Linked DNA regions of Homo sapiens: all the other regions are linked to region 2. Evidence: promoter capture Hi-C in 16 types of primary human blood cells and fetal thymus (Javierre and others, 2016). All regions are on one chromosome and are shown on one strand. Each heading gives the region's core, a stretch centred on a gene start or on the middle of the fragment in contact. The rest is flanking DNA. Distances are from core to core; before and after follow the strand shown. Region 1 overlaps RAPGEF6 (Rap guanine nucleotide exchange factor 6). Region 2 holds the start of FNIP1 (folliculin interacting protein 1). Region 3 has its middle 19 kb from the start of CSF2.

What was found. Contacts are between HindIII fragments. The CHiCAGO score rates a contact against its expected background, and 5 or more counts as called.
Region 1: a fragment that was not itself captured here is called in contact with the fragment with the promoter of FNIP1 in region 2 in 1 of 17 cell types (neutrophils); the score reaches 5.1 in neutrophils.
Region 3: a contact is called between a fragment that was not itself captured here and the fragment with the promoter of FNIP1 in region 2, in 1 of 17 cell types (naive CD8 T cells). The highest score is 5.5, in naive CD8 T cells.

The regions. Positions count from the first base shown.
Region 1 is chr5:131,491,169-131,495,426 of GRCh38, forward strand. RAPGEF6 (Rap guanine nucleotide exchange factor 6) reads right to left here. Exons shown (of 28, transcript NM_016340.6): 14 at 1,414-1,617. Among named protein-coding and RNA genes, the nearest start is that of RAPGEF6, 140 kb to the right of the region's middle. The HindIII fragment of the contact is 5,618 bases long and covers 1-4,258 here.
Region 2 is chr5:131,793,840-131,798,667 of GRCh38, forward strand. FNIP1 (folliculin interacting protein 1) reads right to left here and starts at 3,178. Exons shown (of 18, transcript NM_133372.3): 1 at 2,991-3,178. The coding sequence starts at 3,082. RefSeq lists silencers at 2,792-3,071, 3,122-3,381. The HindIII fragment of the contact is 14,343 bases long and covers 2,513-4,828 here.
Region 3 is chr5:132,090,382-132,094,891 of GRCh38, forward strand. No RefSeq gene overlaps it. Among named protein-coding and RNA genes, the nearest start is that of CSF2, 19 kb to the left of the region's middle. RefSeq lists an enhancer at 3,767-4,510. The HindIII fragment of the contact is 153 bases long and covers 2,292-2,444 here.

The sequences.
Region 1 (4,258 bases), core at 1,276-3,775, 300 kb before region 2:
GGGGTCAGGCCCAGAAAACTCTATTGTGGAAGCTGTCCTGGGAATTGTAGGCTGTTTAGCAGCATCCTCGGCCTCTGTCCACCAACATGCCAGTAATAATCCCCAAGTCATAATAATAAAAAATATCTGCAGACATTGCCACTAGTTGAGAACCACTGTTCTAGAGTGTAGAACCTTTCATAATATGAATGAGCTCATAATTTTTAAAAAATGATAACATGGCTCCGTTAAAATAAAGCCACATTCTAAAATGAAAGAACAAAATTTTAAATGGGGAGAAAGCAAGTTTCCTAAATGATTCTGATGATCAGGCAGATTTGGGAAACCACCCTTTGAAGTACATGAGAATCATCTAGAGCAGGGGTCCCCAACCACCAGGACACAGACCCATGGCCTGTTAGGAACTGGGCCACACAGCAGGAGGTGAGCAGTGGGCCAGTGAGCATTACCGCCTGACCTCCACCTCCTGTTAAATCAGCAGTGACATTAGATTCTCATAGGAGTGTGAACCCTGTTGAGAACTGCAAATGCAAGGGATCTAGGGCACTCCTTATGAAAATTTAATGTCTGAATGCCTGATGACCTGAGGTGGATCAGTTTCATCCAAAAACCATCTCCATCACCCCAGCCCCAACTCCCTGGTCCGTGGAAAAACTGTCTTCCATAAAACTGGTCCCTGGTGCCAAAAAGGTTGGGGACCACTGATCTAGAGAGCTTTGTTAAAAATACAGATGTTCAGACATCATTGCTTAAGAATGTGGGCAATATGACTAACAGGATTGAGAGAAGCCTGAGAATTACATTTTTTATGTAACAAAGTTGCCAGCAGATCACATTTGGAATAGGCTGCTCTATACTTACCTAATGCCTATACCAAAAAATAAAAATCACCATCAAATTCCTAAGAGTGTCTTTTTTCCTAGTCCCCCATTTGGCTCACTTTGCTTATGGATATAGTTATGTTACCATATGAACATAATTTAATGATTACCATAACCTTCAGTAATCTGCAGCCACTTACATTTGAGAGTACTATGAGGTAGAAGTGCTGTCTTCTTCAAAACCTGCAAGGGTGCTAATTCATATATTGATCGTTCTGGAGTATTCTCAAGTTGCCAGCTTATACAGTTTCCTAATCCATGAAGGATAGGCAGGCCCATTCAAAGGAGGTCATGTTGATAGAGCTCAGTAGACCATGTTATTTCTGGCCATACTACACCAAATTTTCCATTAAAAGTAATAAATATATGACAAATACTTTTAAAAATAAACCATATGCAGATACTACCTCTAAAAAAAGGCTCAGAAAAATATTTCCTTAAACTGATCATGCTTTCTGGAAGATGAGAACAAAAGCAGCAGGCATAATACTTTTAAGAAGGCTTGAATATAAGTGGTTGGTTATTTCCTTACCTGATCACCACGTTTCAGTCCTGAATCAGCAGCTTTGCTACCAGGTTCTACTCCTTCAACAAAAATACCAAATCCCTTCTCACTCCCTCCATTAAGGCTGAATTGTAGAGGGGACTCGCGGGAAGCCTTTTGCAGCACAACCTGTCTCCACTTAGCCTTTGCAGCACAGGCAATATTCAATAACCGGAGATGACCATTCATCTTCTGTTAAGCAGAAAAGGATAAATGTATATAAATGTATCTATTCCTATAGGTTTTTAAAAAGTCAACGAAAATTATTAGAATTAGAGTTATAAATATACATGTATAAGCTGAGGTAAACAAAATTGAAGAAGGGGGCACTCCCACGCCAAAGCACTCTCAACAAGATTTCTAAATATGATTATAAGACTTTTAAATTATCATAGGTAGATTTCCAAGTGATGTCTCATTTACAGAGACATGACAAAAAATTACCTATCATTTATTTATTTATTTATTTATTTATTTATTTATTTTTTTGAGACGGAGCCTCGCTCTGTCGCCCAGGCTGGAGCACAGTGGCGCGATCTCGACTCACTGCAGGCTCCACCTCCCGGGTTCATGCCATTCTCCTGCCTCAGCCTCCCGAGTAGCTGGGACTACAGGCGCCCGCCACCATGCCCGGCTAATTTTTTGTATTTTTGGTAGAGACAGGGTTTCACCATGTTAGCCACGATGGTCTTGATCTCTTGACCTCGTGATCCGCCTGTCTCGGCCTCCCAAAGTGCTGGGATTACAGGCATGAGCCACCGCGCCCGACCTACTTATCATTTCTTAAACTTTTCCTAATACACACTCTACTCCCACCTTGCTTATCTCCTGGCTGTTATATAAAACCAGAATCTTTTAAAACCTTTATTCAAAACCTTGAACAACTTGAACCACCTTTTTAAATATTGTCCAATGTTCAAAGAAACATTCAAGTTTTCATCTCGTCCAGAAAAGACTTCCTTCTTGTATTATTTTAGCTCTTCCTTAAACTCAGTAATAGTCTACCAGTTCTAATTCCAGTTTCAATTATCTCAAATAGTGTTAATATGTGCAAATCTCATGTCCATAACAAAAAGCTAAAGTTTTTTTTTTTTAAAGCAGACACCAAGTCTTACATCTGTTCTGATCCTACATTGATGTCTTTGAGTATAAAGTAGAATGCAATGAATACCTGATGGCTAACTGATTACTGGAAAAAAAAATCCCATGACTTTTTTTCCCACATTCTGATGTCCCTTGAATATTTACAAAGCCAACACAGGATGACTCAAATGATAGTGGAGTACCTCTATAACCTTTTAATCAAGTTCCCAGTGTTGTTCACTCTCCCCATTTTGTATAGAGCACATGTGCTGCCGAGAAGTCAATAGGAACCAAGGGGTAATGAAAGGGACCAAATTTGCCAATTTTTCCCACTTCATTCAACTCAATCCACTTATGCTCTGTAAGTAATTAATTACAGCTCTTGAGCATTTGCTATGTCACAGGTTTTGTGTACAGACTGTTATGCCTCTCAGCTCATTATAATCCTTACAACAATCTCAATGAACTAGGAACTACTATCTTTACAAATAACACAACTAAGGCATAAGATCAGGCAATGTCTGAGTTTACAAATCTAGCAAATGGTGGAGCTTGAGCTGTACTCCTAAAACACTATGCTGCATTACTACTTATTTCCTAAAATTTCAAGTTGCTTGAAGGAGGCAACCAAGTCACAGCTCAAAGTTTTATATCTGACAGGGAGTTTAAAATGAATTCACGAACAGCTACTGTGGACTTGGAGGGAATTATCTTAGGTGCTGTACATTTAGAACAGATGAATCCTATATAGAAAGGAAACCTAGAAAGTCAATATAGATTTGATATTTAGGATATGCACTGATAGTGAAACAGAGTTTCAATAGGTGAGGAAAAGAAAATTCTAGCATGGTCTGGATGCAGAACTGGAAAATAAAATAGTCTGATTTGGCTATAATCTAGGGTACACAGGAAAAAGGGCAAAAAGGTAGGCAAGGGACCTGAATATATGGGTGAGGAACTGCTTTGGTAGGAAGTATAGATTACTGACAAAGAAAATAATAGTCATCACATGTGTGTTTTAAAAGCAATCTTTTGGCCACACAGAATGAACTAGAAGAGAAACTAGAACTAGGGTCAGTGAGCAGATTATAATAGATCAGATATATTAAGTCCTAAACTAGGGAGTAAAAAAGAAATGGCTGAGAGAGACCATAAGAAAATATGTGAACATACATGTGTATGACTAAATCAGTGACCTAGGTGACTTTAGCAACTGACTGGAAATCCTGGCCAGGGAATTCAAGAAAAAGAGACTGAGGGTACACATATAACACCAGGTTTATAAGCCTGAGTAACTAAGAGATAAGAATGTCAATACAGAAATGGAAGATTTGGGCCAGGCGCCGTGGCTCAGACGCCTGTAATCTCAGCACTCTGGAAGGCCGAGGCGGGCGGATCACGAGGTCAGGAGTTTGAGACCAGCCTGGGCAATCTGGTGAAACCCTGTCTCTGCTAAAAATACAAAACCTAGCTGGGCGTGGTGGTGCGCGTCTGAAGTCCCATCTACTCAGGAGGTTGAGGTAGGAGAGAATTGCTTGAACCTGGAAAGCGGAGGTCGCAGTGAGCCAAGATTGCACCACTGCACTCCAGCCTGGGCGACAGCGAGACTCCGTCTCAAAAAAAAAACAAATAAATACAATAAATAAATAAATAAATATAAATAAAAAATAAATGGAAGAGTCAGGAAGGAGTGTAAATGTTGTTTTAATTGAGGTGGCAGAGAATAAATGAACAAAAGTCTAGAATACAG
Region 2 (4,828 bases), core at 1,928-4,427:
CTAGAACAAAACAAAACACCCAAAAAAGGATTCCAGCAATGAAAGCATGGTATACTAGAATGAAAACAAAATGTTAGTCTACTCAAAAACCTGGGTTATATAAAAAGATGCTGAATATGATCTTCGGGAAATGCAAATTAAAACCACAAGATACCACTAGAATGGCTATAATCAAAAGAATAAAAAAACGATTAAGACAGTAAATTTTGGCCAGGCATGGTGGCTCATGCCTGTAATTACAGCACTTTGGGAGGCCAAGGTGGGAGGATACTTAGGAGCCTACTCAGGAGGCTGAGGTGAGAGGATTACTAGAGCCCAGGAGGTCAAGGCTGCAATGAGCCTTGATTGTATCATGGCACTCTAGCCTGAGCAACAAGTGAGACTCCATCTAAAAAAAAAAAAAAAAAAAAAAAAAGTAAATTTCATATTTTTTTTACAATAAAAATTTTTAATTAAAAAAGAACAAAAATAACAATATCAATATTGAAGAGATTGTGAAGAACCTGTAACCTTCATGCATTGCTACTGAGAATACAAAATGGTACAACTATTTTGGAAAAGTCTGACAATTTTTTTTTAAAGTTAAACACAACATTTAGCACATGACTCTGCAACCCCACTCCTAGATTTCTATCCAAGAGAAAAGAAAATATATGTCCACATAAAGATTTATACACAAACATTAACAGCAGCATTATTCATAATAGCCCAAATCTGGGGAAAAAATATGTCCTCCAACTAGTGGCTGAATAAACAAATCATGGTATAGCCATACAATGGAATACCATTCAGTGATAAAATTGAAGGAACTGGCTGGGTGTGGTGGCTCATCCCTGTAAGCCCAGAACTTTGGGAGGCCAAGGTGAGAGGATCCCTTGAGCCCAGGAGGTTGACAGTGTATTAAGCGTGGTCACGCCACTGTACTACAGCCTGTTGACAGAGTGAGAAAAAAAGGAACTAATAAATGCAACAAACAAGACAGACACAAGACTATGACAGAAAGTATCAGTGACTGCCACGGGTGAGGAGGAGTTAGGCTACAACAGAGCATGAGGGAACTTTTTGGGTGATGGAAGTGTTCTAAAACTTCATGGGGGTGGTGGGTACACAACTGTATACGATGTATGCTTAAAATGTATTTATACTTTATTGTGTATAAATTATAGCTCAATGAAATAGTTTTTAAAAAACCCTGGGTTGATTAGATCTGTAAGTTATTAGCTATGTGACATTAACCAGAATGGTTTTTTTTCCTTCAGATATGCCTATTCTGTTTCATCAGTTTTCATTTCTCACATGCACAAGTTTTATTTTTAAAGTGAGAGATTCCATAATGTACTGCAGTTATTGGGCTTACAGATAATTCTTACTTCCACTGGCAAAAGTATATAGTTATCTGCACTGCTACTTGCTCTATCTCGTAAGATTGCTGTGAAACATCAAATAAGATAACTGATGAGAAAGTTCTTTGGTAACTGTAAAATAGTATTACGCAACTATGTAGTAGACTTTACATTTTTGAAAACCAGACGTGAAAATGTTTTTTCATATGAGTGACTTGAGAGCCTTGTAAACCTACGTACCCAAAGTCAATCTTTGTCCAGAAATAGAAAGCAGTTGTCTATTCAAATGCCACCTTTTAAATATCCTATCGGAACCTGTTTCCTATTGTCGCTTGAGTTACTAGATGGCTCAATGTAGTATTATCTAACCTGCACTTTCATTTTTCAAAGGAAAAACACTAAAGAAATGTTTAAAGAGAGACAGATGAGCATGACACATTTATTTTTCAGGGGAAAAGACAGATACGTAGAAAAACCTCTTCAATTCCATATGCATTTACTGAATTTTTCCTGATGAGACCTGCATTAGCAAGAGAGAGTGAATAATTTTAAGAATAGCAAAATTTCTTAAACCAGTGTGGCAACTTCGCCTGTTCCAAAATTTGACAGATTCTCTTTTTTTATTTTTATTTTATTTTTTTGTTTCTACTATTGTTGTACAACTGGGCTCTTTGCTATCCTACCAAGTTTAAAACGTGTGGCATTTGACATTTAGCCTAGTTATATTTGCAAGTTTCCACACTGCAATACGTATAAAGGCTGTTTGGACATAATCTCCTCAGGTGCAGTTTAACGACTAAATTTTACCTTGAATTCAGGTTTATATCAAATCTTACAATTCTGAAAAGTTACTCTGCCAGCAACAGGTACTACAATGAAAAATTAACAAAGCCTGTAACACTACAAAATGCTCTACTAACATTTTCAATTTTTAAGACTCCTTTTCAGTAACAATTCGAGGAGGAAGAATCTACAGCCAATTCCAAGGCCAGATTTCATTCAATTTGGTCTTCCTTCGGCAGTAACCCTAAACTCAAGTTTCACATTTCTCCTTCGATAACATTAAGGTCGCTCGGTCCGGTTACTGCACACCTCCAATTTTAGCGTCCAAGAAACCTGAAAGAACGGCACGTTGCCTACTCGCTCCTCCAGCCTTCTCTCAACTCAGAAGCTTGGCCAAACGTGCCGCTCTCTCCACAACGCCAACGGAGCTGGAACGCAGCGCCCGGAGGACAACTGGTCACGGGGAGGAGGGGAGAACTTCGCGGCCCGGAGTACGGCGGCTGAGGTCCAATCCAGCCCGCGCCCAACTCTACTCGGTGCCAGGAAGGCGTGTGGACCCAAAGTCTCAGGCCGCGGTGCTAGGTCCGGAGGAGCAGAGTCGCGCGTGGCTGGGGGCAGGTCGTAAACAAACCGACGGGAGGAGGGGGAAGGGGCAACGGCGAGGCGGGTGGGGTAAAATAAAAGGTAGGACCTCGCTCCAACCCTTCGGCGCTAGCCCGCAGCCGGCTCCACCCCACCGAGGACCAGATGCTGCTCTCGGCGCGGCGCTTCCGCTCGGGTCGGAACACCGAAGGCCCCAACACCCCTGGAGCCCGGAGCCCACAAGGCCATCGGCTCCGCGACCCCCGCCCCACAGCGCCCTACCTGAACCCGCAATCTGGGTCCCGGGCGTCGCGGCCGGGCGCGCCCAGCCCGGTCCTCTTGCTGAAGAGCTTCTGGAACAGCGTAGGGGCCATGCTAGCCACGGCCAGGCAGGGGTCGCTCCGCTGGGCGCTTGCTAGGCCCCTGCTCCTACAGCCGCCCCGCCACCCCCATGGGCGCCTCAGTCATATGACAGAAATTAGTCACTTCAAACGGCCACGGCGCGCGGGGCGGGGCGCGAGGCAAGGCCGGCACTCATTGGCTGGAGGGGGGCCGCATCACGTGGCGGCGCGCGGAGCAAGGGGCAAGGTGGGGGCGTGGGGCGGAGCTGCCTCCCATAGGCTCACTGGCGGGTCCCGTCACGTGGCAGGGGCGGGGCGTGAGCCGAGAGGACAGGACTGGAAGGTGGCTAGGGATGTGTAGCGGGAGAAGGGTCAGTCTCGATCTTCCCCTGTGAAGCTGTCAGCGACCATCAGAGGGTACGCCGGGGTGGCGCGGGGACGATGCCAGGAGCCTTGGAGTGCAGAAGGCTTCGACTCCCCGCACCCACAGAGTTGCGTAGGGAACCACGGGCAACCGACTCTTCCTTGTCAGCCCCTCCCTAGCTTCTGCGGCTTCACACCTCCATTCCGCGCCGGGCAGAGTCTGGCGGCTCCTGGAGCACGGAAGGCCCACAAGCGTACCCGTGGGGCCGCGGCCAAGGCTGGACTTTGAGCCCAGGACCCCAGGACCGCCCTTAGAAGGCTGCGCCGGCCCGCGAGAGGTCTGGGATCTGGACAGCGCGGGGGCTGGCTCACAGGGACTGGTGAAGGAAACTGCCGGGACCCCTGCCACAGCCATGGCTCCCCGCAAAGACGACCTCGAGCAGGCACTGCGGGCAGTTTGTACTAGCGCCTAGAACCCTGACACCGGGAATTAGTCTCTTGGAAGAGCTAGCGATTGGAGGCTCAGGAGTTAGGCTGTTTCCTTGTTAACCAACAAAATCAGGTGAAACCAACGAAGTCAGGAAGCCTAAAGACATATATGTACAGATATCTAACCCTTTACGCTAATTATTTAGATTTTTAATAAATCTATCTTAATGTTTAGGTATGAAGACGGGAGGAACTGTGGAATTTTAGTCAAGTTACAGGGAAGAAACGCTTTCTAAAAAAAGAAAAACATTGCTCACATGTGACCTCACAGTCTTATTTAACCCATGGAACCAAAATATATCAGAGTTTGTATCAAACTAATCTTATAAATTTTCAGCAACCCCATCCATTCACTCACTCCCCCTCCAGGATGAGGAAGCTCGTACAATGGGATGTAATCCTCAGAGAAATTTAGGAAATAACTTGTATATGGTTGGAAGGCTGGATAAAAATACTTTGGGCAGGCGTGGTAGCTCACGTCTGTAATCGCAACACTGCAAGGCCGAGGCAGGCAGATCGCTTTAGCTCTGTAGTTCGAAACCAGCTTGGGCAACAGTAAGACCCTGTCTCTACAAAAAAAAAAAAAAAAAAAAAATTTTAATTAGCCAGGTGTGGCCGGGCGCTGTGGCTCACGCCTGTTATCCCAGCACTTTGGGAGGCCGAGGCGAGTGGATCACCTGAGGTCACGAGTTCAAGACCAGCCTGACCAGCATGGTGAAACCCCGTCTCCAAAAAATTAGCCGGCGTGGTGGCGGCGAATGCCTGTAATCCCAACTACCTGGGAGGCTGGGACAGGAGAATTGCTTGAACCCAGGAGGCAGAGGTTGCAGTGAGCCGAGATTGTGCCATTGCACTCCAGCCCGGGCAACAAGAGCGAGACACCGTCTCAAAAACAAACAAAAATTAGCCAGGTGTGGTCACGGCGCA
Region 3 (4,510 bases), core at 1,118-3,617, 300 kb after region 2:
TGGGGCCCCACTCAAAGATGGCAGGCTTTTGTGTCACTGCCAGGTATATGGTTCAGAATAATATTCCCAAGTGTGTAATAGGTTTCATCCATATAGGTTGCATCCATAACCCTAAGAGGCCTGCCAAACATTCCGCTTCCTTCTTCATGGTGGGAAGTACAAGACATAGTGATTTGTCCTATACTTTGGTGGGAATTTTCTGCACGCTCCAGACTACTGGATTCCTAAAAACTTCACTGATGTGGCAGGCTGTGAATATTCATAGGGTTTATCTTCTGGAGTGCATGTGTCTTGCCATGGCCATCAATCTTGTCTGACTGGCATAATATTATCAATAGAGTAGACCAGTGTGATGTTCTGCAGGATGCCCAAGTGGTTCAGACTTCTTGGAACTATGTTATGACAGAGGGCAGGAGAGTTAACTTTGCCTTGGAAATTTGAACTGTTGTTTGTCCCAAGTGAATGCAAACAATTTCTAACAGGGGTGGAAAAGAATGGATTCACCAAATCAGCAGCTACACACTGTATGCCTGAGCCCATGTTAATCTGTTGTAGTGAAGACACATTTGGCAAGCACAGTGGCTGCAAATGGGGCTACTGTTGAATTGGTAGTAGCCTGCTGTCATCTTTCAGGATTTAACTGGGTTTTGCTGGTAAATTAAATGAAGATATGACGGACTCCCTTTTAGGTCTATAATGGTGGCAATAATTTCTGCCATTAACCCTGGAATGTGATATTGTTCTTGATTTACTATTTTGCCTGGAATGGGAAGGTTTTGAAGGCTTCCACTTGGCTTTCTTCACTATGATCACTCTCACCATGCAGGCCAAGGACCCAATGTAGGGGCTGTGCTAATTATCAAGTGTGTTGATCTGATTATATCACTGTGGGTCTGTGGACCCAGAGGACCTGCTATTAGCAGAACTCAGGCCAGGAATCTATCACCTGGCCCACATATACCCCTCATTCTAATGAGAGGATTTTGGTGCCACTTCAGGTACCTAGGTAACAATGTCAATTCTAATCCCGGGTTCAATAGTCTTTCACATGTTAGGATATTCTCTTTCCTAGTATGTAGCTATCCAAGTTAAGTGCCCACAGGTCCCCCTGGGAAAGGGCTGGGGAAATCATTATCATGCACACTTGCTGTGGTGGTGTGGGACTCTTCCTTCTGGGAGATCTGGCATCTTCTTCAATCAGTAGGTTCTAAGTCTGAAAACTGGTTCAGATCTGGAAACTCGGCAGGTTACTTTTTATTGGGGTGACTGGACTCATTATCCATGATTGATTTCTTTTTCTTGCACAGAATAACCCGCAGCACTGTTGGCTGGCCATCTATTGTGACCCTCCAGATGCTATGTTTTATTAACCATGTCCATAACTCCCCGGGAGCCAGGCCCTCTTAACAGCCATTCCAATCTTGCCACCCAGACAACTGGGCCAAGTGCTATGACTTGGCCTCTATTATCTCAGAGTCCTATCACCCCTACTGCTATCAGTGAGCCCAGTTCTGTGACATTTCCTATCAATGCTGGCCTATTTTAGCCACCATTTTAGTTCTTGGTGATACTGGTGCCCTTCTTTCCAATACATTTCTTGTTTTGGTATCTTCTTGGCCCTCAGGCGAGTATTCTGAATTTGCTTAGTATATTTATTCCTGCACACCCACGTCCTTCATAGTCTGCCATAGCCATTCTGGCTACCCTCACTTAATATGGGCCATCCTCTTTCCATGCTTCTAGGAGCCATCCAAACGATGTATTTGCACCATCTCTTGGGGCCTTGCCACAGTTTTAAATACTTTATCCTGGAAGAATGTTCCCATATCCATAAACTCTTTTGTTCAAATTTCTGTTCCACCCCCTTGGTCCAGAATCCAGTCCTGTGCATACTCTCCAAGCTCCTGCTAGTACTCTCTGGATATGACCAGAATTTCCTTTGAGGTATAGTCCTTTTCTACACTAGCAAGTTCAGCATGTCTGGCCAGGTTAGGTTTTGACTTAACCCTAGTTATTGGCCTAGCACAAAGAGGTAACATGGAATGAGAGCATGTCTTGCAGGACAGAAGCCTCCGCATTTTCTTTTTAAAGTAAGAAGCAAGTTCTAGCTTTTAACAGAGATGAGTAGGTCACTTCTGCAGGTCCAGAGTGTTTAGTGAAATCTGAGGATTCAAGATATTCAGGTGCAACAGAGGTCCTCATCCCACGTGTCAGGGTCTCATTCTTCCCCAACCAGGGCTCTGCCCTTGGCATAGAAGACCTGCCTTGGTTGGGAATATAACCTTCTTTGAAGCTTAACTACTTTGACAGAAGTCTGGGTCTGATTCTCTGCTTTTTCTTCTTTTCTATAGATGCACCAAAGAGGCCTACGGCTTTCATGCTTATGTTTTCATTGCCAATTAATCACTCTAAGCTCTCCATTTTCTTTTACTGAAAGTTAGTCAAGCTTAGCAATTCCATTGTCCTTGCAGTGGCTAATTCCCCCATATTTCTCAAACACCTGAGGCACTGCACCATCTAATGCATTCTCTTCCAACATAGGTAAAAGTTTTAACAATTATTACCATGGGCCAAAAGCTGTCTGCTTCACCTGCCACCTGTGATGGGAGTCCTCATTGGCAGCCAACAGTGGATGATCCAGCTCCAAAATCATATCTTAGCATCTCATTTTTTTTCTGTCACTCCTAAAGCCAGATGCCATAGATTAGGTTCTATAGGAAACAGACTGAGTAGGATATGAGCATGTAGGACCTTTATTAGGAAAAGATCTTGGGGTCAACATCAGTGGAAATGAGGACTGAAACAGGACTAGGCAAAAGGAGAAGTGGAGCTACTATGCAATTCCAGCCGAGGTTCCAGCTGAGACCAGGAGTGCTCATCTGTGATGATCCTTCAGAGTTTTCCCAAGAAGGAGAGGGAGCCAAGCCTTTATACCTTCATATTTATCAGTTGGTAGACGTGGGCTCCCTACAGAAGTAGGTGTGACCTTACACAAGGCAATTATTTTTTAGCAGTAGTCCAAAATAGGGCTGACAGCTGGGGCTGTCTTCTGGCAGCTCTCCCACCAGCTGGTGAAATAAATCTTTCATTCATAAAGGGGATGGGGCGGGGGGGTCTGAGCTGTGTATCACAGCATCCACAAGACCACCTTAAAAAGCCTGTACAAATCTTGTCCCTGGGCAGATGGGTCAGAGCCTGATGCTTACAAACCACGCTTCCCCCCACAACCCTGGCAACTGGGATTCTGTTGCTTTCCTATTGTGACACATAAGCCCAGGGAAGAGCCTCACTCTGCCATTCTCAGGTACTCAACTCCTCAGGAGAAATGGCTACAGGGTCCCTCTCCCCATCTAATATTGAGTACTCACTGTATCTCAGCCACCAGGTATCAGAGACACCTGTCAGGCAGCTTTTGTCCCTAGCAGTAGTGAGCAGAATCAGTATCATCTGGGTTGGGGCGGCTATAGTTTCTTGGTCAGTCTATGAAAAGAGGAGGAGTCGTTTGCCAGGTGGCAAAGGGGCAGAGAAAAACATGCTTGTGATGGGATGCCTTAAAGAAAGCCCTTCAACCAGGCCAGGTGATCTGGTAAGAGGTGTGGTGGGGATAGGCTGAAGCTAGATCAAAGAAATCTGGACCTAGTAGCTCGCATTTAGGATGGCTCCATAATCGTGGAGTTTCTCCCCAAAGAGGGGCATGCAGAAACATGTCTGGGAACACCACTAGTCTGAAGTGTTGTTTGTAGGGTGGCAGGTTAAGAAAAGGTAGGGACCCTTGTTGGAGGGTGCAGACCTTGATTTGGCCTTTAGACCGCAAGTTTGAGACCTGTAGGGTAGCCAAAGAGAGAAGTACCAAGCCCCAAGGAACTTGGAAACCTAGAAGATGGGCAGAGGAGGAGGCAGCTGTGTAAGAGGCTTGTAAGAACTGGTCACAGAGGAGAAAGAGAAACAGGAGCGGTGGCATCAAAGAAGCCATGAAAAACATAGAAGTCAGAAAATACCAATCCTGGAGGAAGCAGGTTGGTGTGGGGAAGTGACATTTGTTGGCAGGGGCCTCGGGGCAGGCCTGTGGAGGATAGGGAAATGGAACAGTCCTGGCAGTTCAGGTGGCTGGGGGCTGGGACCTTTGGACAGGCTGTATATTAAGCAGGTTTCACGCGACGCCTCCCCTTCTGAGCATTCCCCATGGCCTCGCTAGTGCAGGATGGACAGGAACTGTACTCAGGTCCAGGTGACAGCTCATGCCTGGATTTTCCCAAGGGGGCGGATCCAACCAGTCCACCAGTCCGTTCTGGCAGCTTTAAGCTCCTCTCAGACAGGGTGACATCCAACTGTTTCAAGGGCTTTCCAGTGGGCTGCACTTGTTCTGTCCCACAGGATCTATAGGGAAACCCCAGCTCTGGGCAAACAGACCCCCACCCCCTGACTAAGGCCTCCAGAATCTGGGCCAGAGGCCAGGGTGGGGCAAGACACTGAGTCAGGACAGCGGTTTTCTGGCTTCCTTAGTTTGTGT